Linked DNA regions of Homo sapiens: all the other regions are linked to region 2. Evidence: promoter capture Hi-C in 16 types of primary human blood cells and fetal thymus (Javierre and others, 2016). All regions are on one chromosome and are shown on one strand. The core of a region is centred on a gene start or on the middle of the fragment in contact, and the rest is flanking DNA. Distances in the headings are between cores, read along the strand shown. Region 1 has its middle 14 kb from the start of XCR1. Region 2 holds the start of CCR2 (C-C motif chemokine receptor 2). Region 3 holds the start of FYCO1 (FYVE and coiled-coil domain autophagy adaptor 1). Region 4 overlaps FYCO1 (FYVE and coiled-coil domain autophagy adaptor 1). Region 5 has its middle 25 kb from the start of CCR9. Region 6 has its middle 56 kb from the start of XCR1. Region 7 overlaps FYCO1 (FYVE and coiled-coil domain autophagy adaptor 1).

The links. Contacts are between HindIII fragments. The CHiCAGO score rates a contact against its expected background, and 5 or more counts as called.
Region 1: a contact is called between a fragment that was not itself captured here and the fragment with the promoter of CCR2 in region 2, in 1 of 17 cell types (monocytes). The highest score is 5.2, in monocytes.
Region 3: a contact is called between the fragment with the promoter of FYCO1 here and the fragment with the promoter of CCR2 in region 2, in 7 of 17 cell types (monocytes, neutrophils, naive B cells and 4 more). The highest score is 13.8, in monocytes.
Region 4: a fragment that was not itself captured here is called in contact with the fragment with the promoter of CCR2 in region 2 in 10 of 17 cell types (neutrophils, M1 macrophages, naive B cells and 7 more); the score reaches 10.2 in neutrophils.
Region 5: a contact is called between a fragment that was not itself captured here and the fragment with the promoter of CCR2 in region 2, in 2 of 17 cell types (neutrophils and naive B cells). The highest score is 6.1, in neutrophils.
Region 6: a contact is called between a fragment that was not itself captured here and the fragment with the promoter of CCR2 in region 2, in 6 of 17 cell types (M0 macrophages, M2 macrophages, monocytes and 3 more). The highest score is 11.2, in M0 macrophages.
Region 7: a contact is called between a fragment that was not itself captured here and the fragment with the promoter of CCR2 in region 2, in 1 of 17 cell types (neutrophils). The highest score is 5.2, in neutrophils.

The regions. Positions count from the first base shown.
Region 1 is chr3:46,012,572-46,015,271 of GRCh38, reverse strand. No RefSeq gene overlaps it. Among named protein-coding and RNA genes, the nearest start is that of XCR1, 14 kb to the left of the region's middle. The HindIII fragment of the contact is 3,415 bases long and covers 1-2,700 here.
Region 2 is chr3:46,352,742-46,355,441 of GRCh38, reverse strand. CCR2 (C-C motif chemokine receptor 2) reads right to left here and starts at 1,331. Exons shown (of 2, transcript NM_001123396.4): 1 at 1,265-1,331. The HindIII fragment of the contact is 10,451 bases long and covers 1-2,700 here.
Region 3 is chr3:45,994,413-45,997,112 of GRCh38, reverse strand. FYCO1 (FYVE and coiled-coil domain autophagy adaptor 1) reads left to right here and starts at 1,289. Exons shown (of 18, transcript NM_024513.4): 1 at 1,289-1,391. LOC105377063 (a long non-coding RNA gene) reads right to left here and starts at 1,210. Exons shown (of 3, transcript XR_940799.3): 1 at 1,024-1,210. RefSeq lists enhancers at 1,261-1,420, 1,441-1,490, 991-1,490. The HindIII fragment of the contact is 2,332 bases long and covers 1-1,883 here.
Region 4 is chr3:45,932,413-45,935,112 of GRCh38, reverse strand. All of the region lies in intron 15 of FYCO1 (FYVE and coiled-coil domain autophagy adaptor 1), which reads left to right. Among named protein-coding and RNA genes, the nearest start is that of CXCR6, 9.7 kb to the left of the region's middle. The HindIII fragment of the contact is 3,840 bases long and covers 1-2,700 here.
Region 5 is chr3:45,910,524-45,913,223 of GRCh38, reverse strand. It overlaps a transcript of LZTFL1 not described here. Among named protein-coding and RNA genes, the nearest start is that of CCR9, 25 kb to the right of the region's middle. The HindIII fragment of the contact is 2,041 bases long and covers 233-2,273 here.
Region 6 is chr3:46,082,007-46,084,706 of GRCh38, reverse strand. It overlaps a transcript of XCR1 not described here. Among named protein-coding and RNA genes, the nearest start is that of XCR1, 56 kb to the right of the region's middle. The HindIII fragment of the contact is 8,313 bases long and covers 1-2,700 here.
Region 7 is chr3:45,955,811-45,958,510 of GRCh38, reverse strand. FYCO1 (FYVE and coiled-coil domain autophagy adaptor 1) reads left to right here. Exons shown (of 18, transcript NM_024513.4): 13 at 1-103. Among named protein-coding and RNA genes, the nearest start is that of CXCR6, 14 kb to the right of the region's middle. The HindIII fragment of the contact is 6,291 bases long and covers 1-2,700 here.

The DNA.
Region 1 (2,700 bases), core at 135-2,634, 340 kb after region 2:
TTGCAAAAAGGGTAAATTTGGGCACAGACACAGGAGAATGTCATGTGAAGACTAGAGTTATGCTGCCACAAGCCAAAAAACACCAAAGACTGCCAGCAAGCGACCAGAAGCAAGGAGAAAGGCATGGAGCAGATTCTCCCTTACAGCCCCAGAAGGAATGAACCTGACACCTAGATCTCAGACTTCCAGTCTCCAGAACTGTGAGACAGTATATTTCTCTCGTTCGAGCCACCCAGTCATGGAACTTGGTTAATGGCAGCCGGAGCAAATTAATACAGGACACAAATTTCAGTGTGTGGGAGCGGAATCCCAGTGCACCTCCAAACCTTCCATGATGTTCCAGTGTCTCCTGCACCTACACAGAAGGCTACACCTAACTGAAGACATGCAGAGGAGATTGGAAGCTAGTGTTTACTGAGACCTACTATGTATTAGGTCCATACATTTTCACGTCTCACAGCTACCTTACGAGGTTTCTGTTTTCTCCAGTTTGACTAAGGAGGATACAAGGGACCAGAATAGGTCACACTCCAACATCCAAGGCTACATGTCAGATCACACGCGGAGCTTAAAAAATACTAATGTTGGCCGGGCGCAGTGGCTCATGCCTGTAATCCCAGCACTTTGGGAGGCCGAGGCAGGTAGATCATGAAGTCAAGAGATCGAGACCATCCTGGTCAACATGGTGAAACCCCGTCTCTACTAAAAATACAAAAATTAATTGGGCGTGGTGGTGCACGCCTGTAGTCCCAGCTACTCGGGAGGCTGAGGCGGAGGTTGCAATGAGCTGAGATTGCGCCACTGCACTACAGCCTGGCAACAGAGCAAGACTCTGTCTCAAAAAACAAAAACAAGCAAACAAAAAAAACACTAATGTCTGAGTTTCTACCCCAAAGGTTCTGATGCAATTGTTCTAGGGTGCAACCTGGCCTCAGGATGTTTTTAAAGTCTCCTGGTGGTTCTAATGTACAGCCATGTTTGACAATCACTGATCTAGTGTCTTTATTTATTCAATCATTCACTCAATGAATATTTATTGAGCAACTACTGGGTGCTAGAAACTGTGCTATATCCCTTGCACACATTATGCCACATTCTCACAATTTTACAAGGTAGGCATTGTCACTACCCAGATGAGAAAAGGGGGGCTTGGAGAGATAAATGACTTTCTTAAGTTAAAGCCAAACTCAGGTCTGTATTGTACCCAAACACCTACTCTTTCCATCACATCTTGCCAATTTCCCAAATGATATGCCCATCAGGACTCTTAACCATAAGCAACAGAAATTGCCTCTAGTTGCCACGGCAGAAGAAAATGTGTGGAAAAGATACTGCATGTGATTTCATTGTAATTGCATCAGAGATGCGGCAGGGTACAGTGTCATGATGTCTGCAACTACATCACAAATGATTCGGCAAAAAATTAAAAAAAGAAAAATGTGTGTAATTATACATTAAAATTGGAGAGAAATGACATATAGAAGAGGTTATACTCAAAGAAAGAGAAAAGCTGCTGGGTAGCTCACAAAACTGGTGGGAAGGCAGGAGAAACAGCTAGAACAAAGGGAGGTGGTCTCTGGCACAACAACCGCAGGAGCCAGAGGTTACAGTGACTCTAGAAAGACTTCTCCCACCTGCATTACAAAAAACAGGTACACGAGGCTCACAGAGTGAGCCAAGGCCACACACCCACACTCTGGCCTCAAGGGAGCTGGGAAAGAGCGCCCAGGCTTCCTTATCTCCTACAGAAGTGGGCTCTGCCTCCCACCAAGACTCGTGGTGAGGAATCCCCCCAAGCAGGGAGAGTTCAGCCACAGGATCAGCTAATGGCCACCACAAGTGTGAAAAAGGTTACTGAGGTTTTCTACTGCTCTGCCAGTAGAGAAAGCCAGTGGCTTACAGTCTAAGCCACTAAGATAGGAGGTCAGAGGTGTGACACCACTGGGCACACCAAAAACATTTTAGGATAAGCCTTTGACAAGTGATACGATCAAACCCCACCCCAAATTGCTCCCATCAGCAGTACTGCTCCCTGCCCACATCAACAGAACTACTCAAGAGACAGTGAAGCACTTGGAAAATGGCGGGCTCAATTTTCTACAATAGTACTATTGAGAATTTCCTTCCTACCAGCCATTTACTTAAAGGTTATTTCTTGGTAGCAAAGCTGAGTTTTTCCAAAGAGGTTTTTCAATTTCTTCTCATGTCTTAGATGGAGTTGATTTCCTTTATTCTGAGTGTCAAGAGCCAGTTTGAAAATAAAAGAACTTGGGCCGGGTGCGGTGGCTCACACCTGTAATCCCAGCACTTTGGGAAGCTGAGGCAGGTGGATCACGGGTCAAGAGTTCAAGACCAGCCAGGCCAACATGGTGAAACCCCATCTCTACTAAAAATACAAAAATGAGCTGGGCGTGGTGGCGGGCACCTGTAATCCCAGTTACTCGGGAGGCTGAGGCAGGAGAATCACTTGAACCTGGGAAGCAGAGGTTGCAGTGAACTAAGTCACACCACTGCACTCCAGCCCGGGTGACAGAGCAAGACTCCATCCCCCTCCCCCCACCAAAAAAAAGGAAAGAAAAAAGAAATTAAGAGCAATTTATTTTTCCACTCAGAAAAAAAAAGACTTTGTTACACTGTCTTGGCCAAGGAAATACTTAAGTTTGTGTTGAGAATTTGGAGGCTTCAGTAGTGGAAAGGTCA
Region 2 (2,700 bases), core at 82-2,581:
CTCACCTCCAGTCCCTTCTCCAATCCCAAATCCTGTGCTTCAGTCACAGCCATCTTCTCTTCATTTTCCCTAAACTCACCATTTCCTTCATGCTTCAGTGGTTTTGCAGGTCCTTGCCCCTCTGCCCAAAATGATTGGTGAGCTTCTATTCACCCTTCAATACCTCCTGCTCAAATCCCCCTTCTCTGTGAAGCCTAATCTGTATCCTCTGTCATATTACTCTTATCACATAACACTGCATGCATCTAGATAAGCACTTATTATGTTATCTGCTACACACAGCATGTTCCTCAAGATCAAGGACTGGATTATGCTTCTATTTTCAGCTCTTATGATAGTACCTGGCTAAAGGAGGCACCAATAAATGTTCACTGAATGAGTACATAAAACTCTTTATAATAAGAACTATAAGCCCTAACATCATCAGGACTTGATTCTCAAGAATTTTTTTTCTGGCAGTGACTGTGAATTTCTTTTCCACCCACCTGTATACTTTATCCTTCCATTTCTCTTGCAATTGACACTTTTCACAAGTCTTGTATTTCATATCACTGAGCCAGATTCTTGAAATCTGGAGAAGCTAAATAAGACCTCTGATCAAAGTTGGAAAAAAATGCATCTGCCTAAAGAATCACAACTGTGGTCATTAATTGAGTGCTCCTGAAGCTCAGATGCTATGTTAAATGCTGTGCACACATTACTTAATTTCATTTTTACAACTGGCTAGCATGTAGCTTCTACTACAGTGAACAATGAGCAAGATGCCTGAAATGTGCTGTCCTAGGTGTCATTTCAAGTGTCAGAACATGTCACCCAGAACTGATAGAAATCTATCTTTCAGAAAATAAATTCCTTACTTCTGCCTCTGTGGATCTCCTGAGTTGAGGCAAGGGACACATTTTGGTTCAGAGCTTGGATGGTCCTATATTTAGACTAACAGTTCCAGCTCTTTAACGTCCTTGGGTGCTCAGAGGGGCAGAGTGAGCCCCTGGGTGTGTGGACTGGTGACTGAGCAGAGTGGCTGTCCTGGCCTCGCTTGCTGCCCACTCTCCCCCATCACCTGCTGCACGCTGCTCTTCCTCAGGGTTTCTCTAACATCTCCTGGTGCACATGCCATCCCCACCCCTGCCTCTCATCTTGATCATTCCCCCCAAGTGTGCAGGCTTTGCAGTTCCCCAGGGTGTACCCAGACCCGGCATTTCCAGCTTTGAGGTGCGTTGAGCCTATGAATCAGAAAGTAATGGAAAAAATGCCTACAACTCACCAGCTTGTGGCTTGTCTCAGGCAGTCCTGGTATGTCAGGCTTCTCAGCAACTGAACCAAACAGATCTAGAGGTAGAAACTTGGCATGCAGAAGTAGGAAATAAAGTTTCCTGCAGAAAGTGAAGGCGGAGATACAGGGCAACTAATGGTAAAGATTTGAAAAAAAAAATCAGAAAAATATAGTTCTTCTTTTCCAGTCAGGAACATTGTACATTGGGTTGAGGTCTCCAGAATAGGATTAATTTTGAAATCTTGCTTATGCAACCTTGAGTGTGAGTCAGGCAAACCCTGTACATCTGCTCCTGTTTCTAACGACTCTGAGCTTCTTTATCTTGTGGGTCTTTATACCTGGAACATTTCCACTCTCTGCTCTCCTACTAGTGATAATTTGCATGATATGAGCACAACAGAATGTTTCATGTTCCAGAGAATAAAGGGTATTGGTGATAGTGGAGGAAGTATAATGAGGTTTTACTGCGATCATGTGTGCTGGTTTCAGTGGTATCATGGATTCAGAATCTGGTTAGAAATTTCATTTAGATAAGACTTTAAAATTTTTTTTTATTTAATTCACATAATAATTGTATATATTTATGGGACACAATGTGATGTTTTGCTACATGTATACATTGTGCAATGATCAAATCAGGGTAATTACATATCCATCCTCTGAAACATTTATCATTTCTTTTGAAATAATAATGATATTGAAAACCCTCTCTTCTAGCTATTTATATATACAGAATTCATTATTAACTACCGTCACCCTACTTGGAGCAGAGCACCAGCACTTGTTTCTCCTATCTCATGGTAACTTTGTACCCGTTGATCAACTGCTGCCCATTCTCACCTCCTCTCTTTCCTCCCCAGTCTCTGGTAACCACTGCTCTACTGTCTTTTTCTAAGATAGCAACTTTTTTTTTTTTTTTAAATTGGGTTTCATTCTGTCACCCAGACCGGAGTGCACTGGCACAGTCTCAGCTCACTGCTACCTCCACCTTCTGAGTTCAAGCCATCCTCCCACCTCAGCCTCCTGAGTAGCTAGGATTACAGGTGTGTGCCATCATGCCCGGCTAAGCAACTTATTTAAAAAAAAATTCCACATAAGAGTGAGATCACGTGGTATTTGTCTATCTGTGTGTGGCTTATTTCACTTAACATCCTCTAGGTTCATCCACATTATCACAAATTACAGGATTTCAAACTTTTTAATGAAAAGGAAATGCTAAATTATCTCTTGTGTCAGGAACGTCCTTAGCAAGAAGAACCTCAGTTATTTTAAATGCCCCTCCTTGGAAAGACGTTTTGTTAAAAGATAATGTAAATTTTGCAATGGGGACATCAGACTAGGAGCATTCCTAAGATTGTGCAGAGAACATGGTGTCATCTAAGTTGGCCCCTGGCACTTTCTGGAATCCAGCAGACACCGGAGGCAGG
Region 3 (2,700 bases), core at 40-2,539, 360 kb after region 2:
ACCAAATTATTCTCCTGTGTTGATGATTGCTGTTGTGTAAGAGTAGAGGAAAAATACGGTTTGAGGGAGGTTTTTTTTTCCCCACACAGTTTCAAACAAGGATATTGGACCAGATGACCAACATTAAAATCTCTCTCATCCTTAATATTGCATGAAGCTGTTCAGACAGTGGTTGGAGCAATGATTTCTCTTAGACCACTACATTGATTACTTTTCTCTTTGTCATCTTCTCACTCCCCCCGTTTTCTTTCTGTTCTCCTTTCTGTTAACAAGAGTGGAAATCACTTCTATTCATGTACCTCCTCCCAACCCCACCCCCAAACTGACTACTCCATCCATCCAACTCACTGTTTTAGCTACATCTAATTTATAAAATTAGATGGCTAATGAGATGTCATAGCCTAAAATCGACTAAGAAATTGATTTTCTTTCTGTATTATTGTACCCAGACAACACCCTGCTTCCTCAGTTTAGAATGTTGGGCCACCACGGTTCCTGACTGGATACCACGAGCTAGGTCCTACAAGGGAGAGAGCTGTTTCTGGCTTAAATGATGAGAACTAGGGCAGAGAGTAAAGGATAGCCAGCCACAGCTAAGGAATGCAGTCAGTTAGAAGCCAAAGTCCCCGTGTAGTGTTCCTCTTTTCTACTGTGCCCATAGCGGACACTGATTGAATGCATTTTGTTCTATCGTATTCAGTTCCACAGTGCTTTGCAACACCCATCTTATAAATAGAAGTTGGGCTGAGGATGGGGCCAAAGTTAGGGGTGGTAGTTCATAAACACGTAGTTTTTGAGCACTAATTTTAAGTAAGACCCTGATATTAAGAAATAAGGGGGATTAAAAGATGGGAAATTAGGCCCACCAATACATGTTTTTCTATTTCCCAATATATCAAAATATTATCATTTTAACATGCAATCACTAAAAATTAATGAGCTAGTTAACATTCTTCGGACTCTTTGGTACCTAGGTGTATTTCACACTTACAGCACGTGCACGATTCAACTCGAACTAGCTACCTTTGGAGTGCTCCTTAGCCACACAAGAACAGCGTTGTTGTCAAGATGCCAGACCTTTGATTTGTGGCCCTCCGGGGTTGCAGGCGTTAACCTGGGGCCAGCATGGGTCGCGGGTGGGACAGTCGGTCCGGGGACTGGGCGGTGGGAGCACTTAAACCCCGCCCTGCGGAGTCGCCGGGAGTTGTAGTCGGAGCCCCGGGAGTCCGATGGGAGTTGCAGGCCTCAGCCCCGGGGAGCACGCCGGGAGTTGTAGTCCGCCCCCGCCACCCTCTTGGTGTGCGCGTCATGGCCGTCAGCACCGCGTTCCCGTCCTCTTCCGCTTGGCCCCAGAAAGTTTCGGTTCTGCCCGGCGGTGGACCCACGAGCGCGTAAGTGCCGCGGAAGACCGGCTGGACTCTGGGGGCACCTGGGTCGCTCACGATCCCTGAGGCGAGAGCTTCGCTCGGGGCGCGGCTTGTCACCTGTTGCCCTTACAGTCCCCGCCCATCCCAGGTCTCCCTCAGACCCTGCCCGAGCGCCCCCGTCCTTGCCCAGCGGGCCGGGAAGCACCTCGGGCAGGTGGAAGCCGGCCCAGGCACCCAGCCTGCCTCTGTTGGTCGGTTAGAAAGACAGACCCCAAACACCAGTTCCAAGACCCCGGAGGGCGGAGGGCCCGCAAAGGAAAGGAGCCCACCATGCGGCGTCTCAGAACAAGCCTGAATGTCTTAGCGCAGGATGGGGCAGGCCCCGGAGTTCCTGCCTGCGTGGTCTTTAGGAAGTTTAGTCTCTGGCCCAGTTGGGCCGGGACAGCCCAGACCTTCACTTTGCAAGACTCCGCTGGTGCTCGGATCTCTGCCCTCTTCCCAGGAGGGGAAGAAGCTTCTTTCTTCCTGGCCCATCCTTTGGCCAAGACCTATTCACTATCCACTGCCCCTTGTGCCCATGCGCAGGGTCTCGAGCTAGCCCCCAGGGGTCTTTTCCCGAAACACCTGTTGTCTCTGGTGTGGCGGCACTGCACTGGACTGGAGTCCGTGCTGTTGAAACCTGGCGGGGGTGGGGCGGGGAGGGGGGAGGATGGCGGGATTTTATTTTTTGTAAGAAAAGCACATGTGGTTGACACGTTAACCGCGTGGCCCCCTGTTAAAGCACATGTATTCTCTGATGTCCCTGTCACTCTTCACTGTTCCCATTGGGTGTCCTCTCCAGAAAAAAAAATAGAACACTTGTTGAAACTGCCTGTGTTGGCCAGAGCCTCTCAGCCCCTCTGCTTGTCTTACCACAGCAGTTTCCTTTCCCGACAGAGAAATGGGTCAGGGGCTTTTGCGGGGCAGAGGATCCAGGGCTTAATCTGCTCACTGGTTCTCCTGCCCGTGCAGGCCTTGTGGTCTCAGGCTGCAAGCTTAATTCCCCTGCCATCTGCCTAATGCGGCTGGAGGGTGTTGGGGGCTGGTGTGGGGGAGGGGTGGGGAGCTGGAGCTATCATGCCAAGGTTTTCTGCTTTCAGTAGTTCCCACCTTCTGAAGTGGACCCCTGTTGAGTGAGCTCCACTTGACCCTCCCTTCTGTGACAACCACTGTTCTGAAAGCATTGAATGCCCCATACTAGTTGTGCACCGTGGTTATTATCACCCTGAAAATAAGAGCTAATTGTCACAGTGATGGATCTCAGCCTCCTTTGATTAATAGGATCTCTCCTAAA
Region 4 (2,700 bases), core at 16-2,515, 420 kb after region 2:
GTGGTCGTGAGAGAATAATCTATTCCACCAGTCCTCAGGTGACCTTGGACCACACTTGGACAAACACTATATTGAATTATGGGGCAGACCAAGCAGGAAGAATTAAATAGCTAGCCCACTCACAAGCTGTTGATGCTGGGGGAGTATGAAGTGTCAGGGCCACCCTTTCTGGAGAGCAACTTGGCTGCAGAATGTACCAAAAGTTCAAGAATTGCATTTTCTCTTTGATGCAATGGGCCTGTGTCTGGGAATTTATCCTGAGGAAATAATGACTGGAGGTGCAAAGATAAAGCTACCAAAATGTCCCTTGCATGCTACTCACAGCAGTGACAATTAGAAATAGTAACAGAGAACTTGGGTGGTCGTGAATGGCTGTTGAATTTTGCCAGATCTTTTTTCTACATCAATTGATAAGATCATAGGCTTTTTCTTCCTTAGCCTGTTGATATGATGGATTGCATTGATTGACTTTCATATATCAAACCAGCCTTGCATACCTGGGATAAATCCCACTGGCTGTGGTATATAATTCTTTTCACACACTGCTGGATTTGACAGAATATCTAAAGGATGTTTGCCAGATATAGAATTGAAAGTTCTTTTCTTTCAGCATTTGAAATATGTGTGCTGCTACTTCCCTCTGGCCTCCATGGTTTTAGATGAGAAATCCCCTGGCATTCAAATTGGTATTCCCCCATAGATAATAAGTTATTCCTCTCTGCCTGCTTTCAAGTTTTTTCTTTGTCTTTTGTTCTTAGACGTTTAATTATGATGGGTCTTGGCATGAATTTCTTTGGGTTTTTCCTATTTGGGGTACACTCAGCTCTTAAATCTCTAGGCTTATCTGTCATCATATTTGGGAAGTTTATAACCATCATTTCTTTGAACATTTTTTCAGATGCACTCTATTTTCCCTCTCCATTTGGGACTCCAGTGATACAAATGTGAGATCTTTTGTCCTTGCCTTGTAGATTCCTCAGGCTCTGTTCTTTTTCCTTGCACCCTGTCCCCCAATTCTCTTTTCCCTGTGTTGTTCAGATTGAGGAATTTCTGTTTTTCTCTCTTCAAGTATAACTGTCATCTTTATTCAGCTATTGAGTGTCCAGTGATTTTTTTTTTATTTTGGTTATTGTAATTATTTAGTTCTAAAATTTCCATTTGGTACTTTTTTATATCTTCTGTTTCTTTGGTATGAGTTTTCCACTGTTTTATTGTTTCAAGAACATTTAAAATTGTTACTGAAGCATTTTTTTTGATGGCTGCTTTAAAAGCCTTGACAGATAACTCCAGCATCTGGTTGATGTCAGTGTCGGCTTCTGTTGATTGTCTTTCCTCATGCACACTGTGATTTTCCTGGCTCTTAGGATAACGAGTGGTTTTTTATTATGTGTAGGTGGGGGGCTCAGAGACGCTAAGCTGTTGTGATTTTCCTCATATTCTGGGGGTCCTTAATCAGTCCGCCTTCCTTCTCCTGCCCTTCACTTTTACTACAACTGCTGAATCATTTTCAGTTTTTTTAGTGGCATTTAATGGGAAAGAACAGGGAAATGTTTGAAATCATTTATAATAAAACTGGTAAAAAACCTACCCTCAAGTAAAGGAATGAGGAAAGTTATGAGATTTAGAAATAACTAGACCACACAGATCCAAGGCAGGTCTTTGAGGAGAATAAGACAGTATGGAGAATAGGTCGGCTGGACATGGGAATAAAATGCAAGGAGAATGACAACACCTTGAAAGTTATTTTTTTCTGCCTCTTTCAAAGAGAGTGACAGCAAGCTAAGGATTAGCAACAACATCATGAGAGCATCTGAAAACATGTTAAAGGTTGGGATTATCTCAGAACACTGCAAATGTGTTGGTACCCCTTGACTCATGTAAACTGAAATTTCTTAGGTCACTCAGTGGAATTCACATCTGTGACATGAGCCTTATAGACAATAGGCATCTTAAGATTATATTATATTTGAGCAAACCTTTGATTTGTTTTTGTTAAGATCTGCTTTGGAGAGGCTGAGTATTGTCCTTGTCACTGAATAGATGATGTCTAGATGATGTCTAGACTAGATGATTGAGGCACAATCCAAATACCTGGGTGCCAGGGGAGAATTCTGGAGCATAAAATTATAAAATGCTCCAGCATTAATGTATTAATGGGGCATTATGTCAGGGTAAGTGACTTTTTACATGGTAATATGGTAAGATTTCCACATTACAAGAAAGATGTCTGTTCCAGAATGGACCCCCCAAACCTGCCCTCAGATTCTTGAAAATTGTAAATGTTGGTCGAGGGTTCTTAATTAGAAATAAAATTTAACACATGGAGAAGTATCGCATTGAATTGAATTCTCACAAAGGTGAGTATTGGAGCTGTTCTTTAAAGCATCCTGGTTTTTTAATCATTTCTTACCGTTCTCATTAGCTTTGGGGAGTCTGTCCATTCATCTCCACAGCTTTGGAGGCAGATGAACGCTCAGCACCACCACTTGCTGCGCAGTGTTGGGCAAGTTACCTAACCTCTTTGAAGTTAATTCCCTCCCCTGTGTTAAAGGGGATAGTAATACATTTTCTCCACAAAAGGCAGTTTGGTATGGTAGGAAGATGATGGCTTTGCCTCAGACCTGTGTGAGCCTGGATTGAATTTCTCAATCTTTTAGAATCTTAGTTTCCTCTTTTGTAGAATGGCAACAGTCATGCCTT
Region 5 (2,700 bases), core at 4-2,503, 440 kb after region 2:
AACAATAGTAGCATTGTTTAATTTGTGTAATTGTATAATTTTCTAGGCTCTTGCTGTAAGTCAGCCCACTTTTACAGATGAGGAACCAAGACCCAGGGAAGATGGTAAGTCTGAACCATTTACAGAACATATTACTGCTACTGCGTTATGCTGAGACAGCTGTAGGAGTGGTTTTCTCTAAACCATTCTCATTTTACTTGAATTTAGATTATCTGATGACTTATAAAAAGCTTTTCCATAAACCAGGATTTGCTATGGCAGCCCTTGACCTTCAGACCTTTATTATGATTGTTAATACAAAAGGCTGTATCAGTTACCTGTTGTCAGACCAAGCTGCATTATTCTGCGTTATTTGAAGTTGGATAACCTCAAAACCGTGGCTTAAATCACTGAAGATTTATTTTGCTCACGAATATGCAGGTTGACTGGGGGCTCTGGACTCTTGGTGGGCTCACTCCCTTGTCTGCCCGTGGTCAGCTACGCATTGAGGCTGTGCTCCCACATGTCTGAGGGTTGGCTGCTCATTGGCTAATCGTGGCTGGGGTTGACTCCTACATCTGTGGTCAGTTGGTCAAAGAAAGGCTGGCTAGGCTAGGATGGTCTTGGCCAGACAACTTGGCTGTACTCCATGTGGTCTCCCTGACCCCAACAGGATAGCCTGGGCTTATTCAGATGGCCACTGAGCAGGTTTCCAAGAGAGTGAGTAAAAGTGCCCGAGCTTCGCAAAGCCCAGTCTCAGACCTGGCACATCATTTCAACAGTGTTCTGTTGGTCAGAGCAAGTCACAGGCCAGCCCAGATTCCAGGTGTGGGAAAAGGGACTCCTCTGGATGGGAGGAACTGCAAAGTCACTTTATAAAGGGCACAGGGACAGTGAGGGGTAGAGAATTGGGACCATTTTTGTAATATTTCTACCAAAGAGTCTATAATCTTCCCTTCTTGCACATATTTCCACCTCAATTTTCATCTTCAGTAAAACACCCACCTTCTCCTCCAGATACACTCATACAAGTACGCAAAAACACACGCAACAATCTTCATGGCCACAATGTCTGTGATAGCAAAAAACAGGAAAGGATTTGTTCAAAGTGGGTTGGATTGAAGCAGTATATGACGGCACCCTGGGAGACTATGTGACGAACACTATTCACACCCATGCGACATTTCCTGACAAAGACGCTGGACACAGCAGTGGCTGCCTTGGCAGATGGAGCTGGTGGGGCTTTGGAGTTGGTGGCAGGAATAAGATGCTTTTACTTTTCTCTTTATACTTTTCTATGTCGTTTGAAGTATTTTTAGTAGGTGCCAGTTTAACTTTTAAAATGCGAAAACTAATTTCTAAAAAGACATTCACATCATCTTACGGCCATCTCAAATTCCCAGTAAAAAACCAAATGCCCAATTCCTATATGCTGGAGTCATTACACAGTTGTTGATGTCTTTCTGCATTCACCAAAGGGGTGACCTACTTACCAGCAAAGCTGAACGGCATAAAGCCATGAGCGGGGAGGGCCTGGGAGGAAGCCACAATATGGCCAGAGTTCCTCTTCCCCTGCCTAGGGGCTGGCCCAGCTAGGGCCCCCTGTCCTCCTGACTCAGGGCCTTTGTGAGAAGAGCTATATCCAGATCATATGGTGCAAACTGACCACTGGAACATCAGTGCTTGAACTTCAACTGGGGAGAAAGTACAACAGCCTCTAAGAGATTGGGTTCTAGAATCAGAAAGACGTGGATCCAACTCCTAGTGCCACTACCTACTTCCTCTGGCTTGGGACAAGTCACTTAGCTACTCTGTGCCTCAAAATGTGATAGCTGTTATCATTGAGAAAGACATCCACACCTTGTCCAATCCCTTTTACTCTCTTGGCTCTTTTGATTACTTCTGGGCATTAGTCAGCTAGTCAAGTTGGGGGACCGAGTGATTGGGATCATTGAAAGATGAGTTAATTTACAGAGTAGCCACCTTTGGTGATTTTAAAATATGGCCCTAGAGTTATTTGACACCCTTCCAATAAGAGGTGGAGTCTCGAGTCCCTTGACTCCGGGCTGGCCTCTGGCTGCTCTGACCAGTGGAAGAGCAGAGGGACACTGTGTGGCTTCCGGTGCCATGTCAGAAAAGGACCTGCAACTTCCCCTTGGTTCTCTTGCACAGGGGAAGCCAGCTGCCATGTAAAAGGTCTGAGTACCTTGAGCCCTCCCTGCTGAAGCTGCCGTGTGCTGGGGCCCTGCATGGCAGCCAGCATCAACTACTGGCCCTAAGCCAGTAGTTAAGCTTTCCAGTTAAGCTTTCCAGTGGCCACAGCCCCAGCCAATATCTAACTGCAGCCACATGAGAGACCCCAAGCTAAATATGCCCTGCTGAGCCCCTTCCAAATTCCCGGCTCACAAAATGGCGAATAAAATAAAATGGTTATTGTTTTTATACCACTAAATTTTGTGGCAACAGTTACCAGGACACAGCTGAATTGAATACAAGCAAGGTTCTTAGAATCACTTCTTTCATTTAATTGCAAATGAACCCAAAAGAGATCCATTTACATTTTTTTGTTGTTTTATTGGATTACTCCTGATACTTTATCATAGCAAACCTGACACAAGTTTCACCTACACATCCTCTTTCCACATCCTCACTTCCCATTGATTTGCTCCTCAGCCAATCACAGTCTGCCTTGTTGATGCCTGGGAAGCTGCTCCTAGCCAG
Region 6 (2,700 bases), core at 162-2,661, 270 kb after region 2:
TATTTGGTTTTCTTTTCCTGCATTAATTCGCCTAGGATAATGGCCTCCAGCTACATCTGTACAAGTGGATTTTTAAAGACAAAAAGAAAGCAAGGAGTGAGCTGATAAAAAGTTGGCAGGAATTCTCATTGGTTTATAGAAATTACATTGATTAGGGATTGGCTTTACATTGTTGAGCTGGAGGATATGAGTTATGGCGTCCAGTGCATGGCATTTTATAGCTACTTGGCATCAGTTAGTCTAGAGTCCACATAGCAAGTGGCTTCAAGAGGTAATTACTTAGCTCAAGGGAGGCATGAGATGTGATAGCTTTTCATTCCAATGCTTTTCTGGGACTGATAATTTAAAAGGGCTCACATTCCTATGATTAAAAGTTTCCTTTTGCTCTCATTTCCTTCCTTTTGATCACAAATTTTTCTCCTCAAAAGCACTGATGATACAAATCTGAGTGCCAGCTTGTCCCTTGTCACCAGGAAGGCTCATTCCTGGGTAGCCCTGTCCCACATGGGGGAGTGGAGACATCTCAGTGAGGAATTTTAAGAGCACCAAAAAGCTGAATCAGGATGACAATACAGAATGGCAAAAGTGAGTCCACAAAGTATTGACTTACATAGCTGCTGTTGTTTGCTCCATCATCGCCAGTCTCTGGAATACCATGATTTTCATTTTCTCAGAAGAAATAAAACAATGAAAGATATCTAGCATTAATTGGAATAATAGAAATATATAATGCACATAGGATTAGAACCAAAAAGAGAATTTTTATGCCAGAATGAAAAAGGAATCTAGTCTGTTAAGAGTCAACTAAAAACCTCCTGAAGAAAATTAAATCTCAGTTTTTCTTTAGAGACCTGTAGTCAAGCAGCTTCTTCCCTGATTTTTCCTAGGTGAGTTTCTACTTCATGGGAAATACTTATGTATATACAACAAGAGGTATTTGCCACCACATATCCACCTCCTTGCTCAGCTAATATAGAATCTAAAGCAATGTGATTGTCTAGCACAACCTTAGTCAGTAAATCTGTAGCTTTTTGTTGAGCTGTGATGGAGACAGCAGTTTCATCAGCAATGTTTCCTAGGGTTTTAGAAGGATTTTAGATCATGTGTTCATGGGAAGTTACATCCAACAAAGGCAAAAGTATTCTCAAAGAAAAAAAAATGCATGGAGCTATCTTCTTGATGGCCAGCCAGATAATTAGCACATTTTCTCTAAATAGAATCTCCATCTAAGGTAGATCTGCAGTCATGCCTAGAGAAAAGTTTGAGGGAACTAGTCCAGTGCTGAGTTTCTTCAGAGCTGTATATAGAGAGAAGGGTAACGAAATATCCTAAGACATATTGCCCTTCAACATTCCATGCTCTTAGACACTTACAGGACCATGGCTGGTGATTTTCTCCACAGACTATAATAAATCCTGGTGGAGCACAGATAAGTACACTATAATTTAAGAACATCAGTTTTGAGGCATTACTGGATCAATGGGTCAGAAATGTTAAAGCAAGAAGACAGGATCCTGATAGCTGGAGGGGCTGTTTTCTTTGGATTTTCTAACAACATCATGGATTTTAGTACTGTCATTAGTGAGTAACGCAGCAGTGATTTTTGACAAAAGAATTCTGATGAGTTACATTGAAACATAGGACAAACAGGTTAGGATGAGTCAGGCAGACCTGATTAACAGGTTTGCTTTTATGTGGCCCTGAGTTGTGTTACAAGTGCTATCATGAACACTGGTGAAATTTAGGGCAGAATGTACCAGTGGGTCATTGTGGTCAAAAGTAGTTTTTGGTTTAGGGTAGCAAACCCAGCATCTCTTCAGATTTCCAGCAGTGGCAATGGTGTGTGGGATTCTGATCAGAGAATTATCCCTCCATGCTACAGTCAAATTTATCAGGGACGGCAAAAACAGAAACCTAGGCCAGGTGCAGTGGCTAATGCCTGTAATCCCAGCACTTTGAGAGGCCGAGGTGGGAGAATTACTTAAGGCCAGGAGTTTGAGACCAGTGTGGTCAACATAGCAAGACCCTTCTCTACAATTTTTTTTTTAATTAGCTGGGTGTGGTGGTGCACTTCTGTTGCCCCAGCTACTCGGGAAGCTGAGTCGGGAGGATTGCTTGAGCCCAGGAGTTGGAGGCCGCAGTGAGTTATGATCATGTTACTACATTCCAGCATGGGCAACAGAGCAAAACCCCATCTCTAAAAAAAGGAAAAAAAAAAAAAAAAAAAAAAGGAGCCTGATTATAGGCATTTGTTTACATATATCCTAAGAGAATATATGTGTGTGTGTGTGTGTGTGTATGCATGTATATATGCACATATAAATATATATATGATGATTTTACCAAAACAATTTTATCCAAGAGAGGATACTCACAGTATGGAGGCCTAACGCCATAAGTATTCCAGTCAATAGAAAAAGGAGAGCAAATATTTCAGGTGTGGTAGGCATTAGAATCATGAAGAACAAGTTATACAGGCTTGGTCTGGTATCTTGGGTGAAAACAGGTGACCACAAATGTCAGCTACTTTCCATTCTGGTCAGGAAGACTGCAAGTCAATTCCACTAAGATCTCCCATGATGAAAGACGTCCCCTCAGGTAGGGTTGTCTTTTTAAAATGAGAAATATGAATCTATGCATCAATGCCTTTAAGTTTAGTGGCACAGGGATTGGCCAATAGTACCTGATATGGTCCCTTCC
Region 7 (2,700 bases), core at 1-2,500, 400 kb after region 2:
GGCCCTGGCTCCCCTGATAGCAGTGGCTCAGGCACTAGCCAGGGAGAGCCCAGCCCTGCACTGTCACCAGCCTCACCTGGGCCCCAGGCCACAGGAGGCCAAGGTCAGTCTCCTGCTACTACTGCCTACTATGTTCTCTAGGTGCCACTTCCTCCCCTACCGATGTTGTGGCTAGTTAGTGCTAATAAGCTGAATTCAGTGTTTTCTAAACTTAGGTATTAAAGAGGTGCTAAAATATATTACCACCAACTTGAGACTTTCATTTTGATATATTAGGATTGAAAGAGAATTGAAAAAGGAATAACTTTGCCCTGATAAGATTCAGTGTGATTTAACCTGAAGTCTATGTACCTGTTAATGCACATTCATGAAATACACCCCATGCTTTGGAGAATGCCGTCTACCAGAGCTGCAGCCTTGGCATCCAGAGTAACTCAAGGCTAGGAGTTGTGTCTGGAACCATCCATATCCTTCAGTCTCTTCCTGAAGCTCGCTCTTCCTTCATGTCCAAGGAGGATGTAATCTCCTTTGTGTCCTCCCACTCAGCCCAGTGAAGGAAGTAGAGTTTGGGTTCTGCTGCTTCGGTTTTGAGCACACCCTAGCAGACAGGCCTGGGCTGCCCTTCCGGGCACTGGACTTTGAATGTGGAACACAGGGAGGCAGAGCTGAGACGGCACAGGCAGAAGTGGTCTCAGCTCGTCTCTGCTCGAGCATCATTGCCATCTGCAGCTGGTCCCTGTGAACTCCTCCTTGGCCTCTGCCTGGATGCAGGCCAGCCAGCCTTTAGAAATACTGTCCATTCCTCTTTTGTTTGAGTGGATTACCAAGTGGTTGGCAGGCCCCATTATGTTGTTGGGTACAAAGAACTGACAAGGATGGGGAGTGTACTTTGCACAGCTTTAGTTTATCTTCTTCAAATCTTTTGCCCATTTTAAAATGTTTTTTAAGTATTGAATGTTGAGAGTCCTCTGTATATTCTCTATGCAAGTTCTTTGTCACATATGTATTTTACAAGTATTTTTTCCCAATCTATAGCTTATCTTTATATTTTCTTTCAAAGAGCAAAAAAGTCTTCAAAGAGCAGAAGTTTATCATTTTAATGAGGTCCAATGTATCAGGTTTTTTCTGTTATGCATAAATGTTTTTCTTTTTGTTGTCATGTCTGGCTTTACTTAGCCCAAGGACTCACAGACCTTCTTCTGTTGTCGCTTAGAAGTTTTACAGCTTTAGCTTATACATTTAGGCCTATGATGCATTTTCAGTTATCTTTGTGTATGGTGCAAGGTATGAATAGAGATTCATCTTTTTGTATGGCTGTCCAGTTATTTCAACACCATTGATTGAAAGACTGTTCCTTGCACCTTTGTCAAAAACCGACCTTATTTTTTTTTATGCTGCCATGAGAAAGTAGGCAATTGACCTTATATGTGTGGATTTATATCTGGACTTTTATTCTATTCCATTTATCTATGTGCCTATTCTTTCACTAATACCAAACTGTTATGATGACCATAGTTTTATAAAGCATCTTAACATCACGTAGAGTGACTCCAGTTTTGTTCTTTATCAAAGTATTGGCTATTCTAGGTTTTTTGTTTTTCTATATAAGTTTTAGAATCAGTTTGTCAATTTCTACAAAAAATCCTGGTGATATTTAAATTGAGATTGCATTGAATCTCTAGTTCAGTTTGGGGAGAATTGACATCTTAATAAAATTGACTCAGTCCATGAACATGATACAACTTTCTATTTATTTAAGTCTTTGGTTTCTCTCAGTGGACATCATTTTAGATCCCTGCTGTCTGCTTTCCCTTCCCTCTGCCAGCCTTACAAGGCAGGTTCAGGAGTGTGGCTGAATTGATGGAAAAAAAAACAATCCCTGGCCCCTTTTTTCAGCCTATGCCTCAAGCTCTCTATTACACAGACTTGAAACAAGAAGAAGAACTTCACTTCTAAAGCAGGGCCTGCCTTAGTGGTCATGTGGCAGGTCCAGGTGGGAACTTTAAGCTCACCTGAACCATTTTTCTTGCTAAACACCCCAGGAACTTTGCATGGGCTTGCCCTGACTCATTAGTGACCACAGAGTGCTGCGGTCACTTGTTTTGATTTTTGACATTTCCTGTCTACTCATTTATTTATTTATTTATTTATTTATTTATTTATTTATTTATTTTTGAGACTAAGTCTTGCTCTGTTTCTCAGGCTGGAGTGCAGTGGTACGATCTCGGCTCACTGCAACCTCTGCCTCCTGGGTTCATGTGATTCTCGTGCCTCAGCTTCCTGAGTAGCTGGGATTACAGGTGCCCGCCACCACACCTGGCTAATTTTTATATTTTTATTAGACACAGGGTTTCATCAAGTTGGCCAGGCTGGTACTGAACTCCTGGCCTCAAGTGATCCACCCACCCCGGCTTCCCAAAGTGCTGGGATTATAGGCATGAGCCACAGCACCCAGTGTTTTTTTCATTTTTGCCTCAAACCTGCTCTCACATTTTTCCGTGACATATGCTGGAGAGTGTTTGTGGGCAGATGACTGGTACAGGAACATTTCTACAGTGGCCTTCCTACTAAGTGGTTTGCACAGTCGGACACAAGGCCCCTGGTTGGAAACCCAGTGCCTGCTGCAAGCCCTTGAGCACTGGGAGGTTCTTTCCCACGCATCAGTGGATTAAGGGAAAATGCAGGTCAGACAGACTCCTG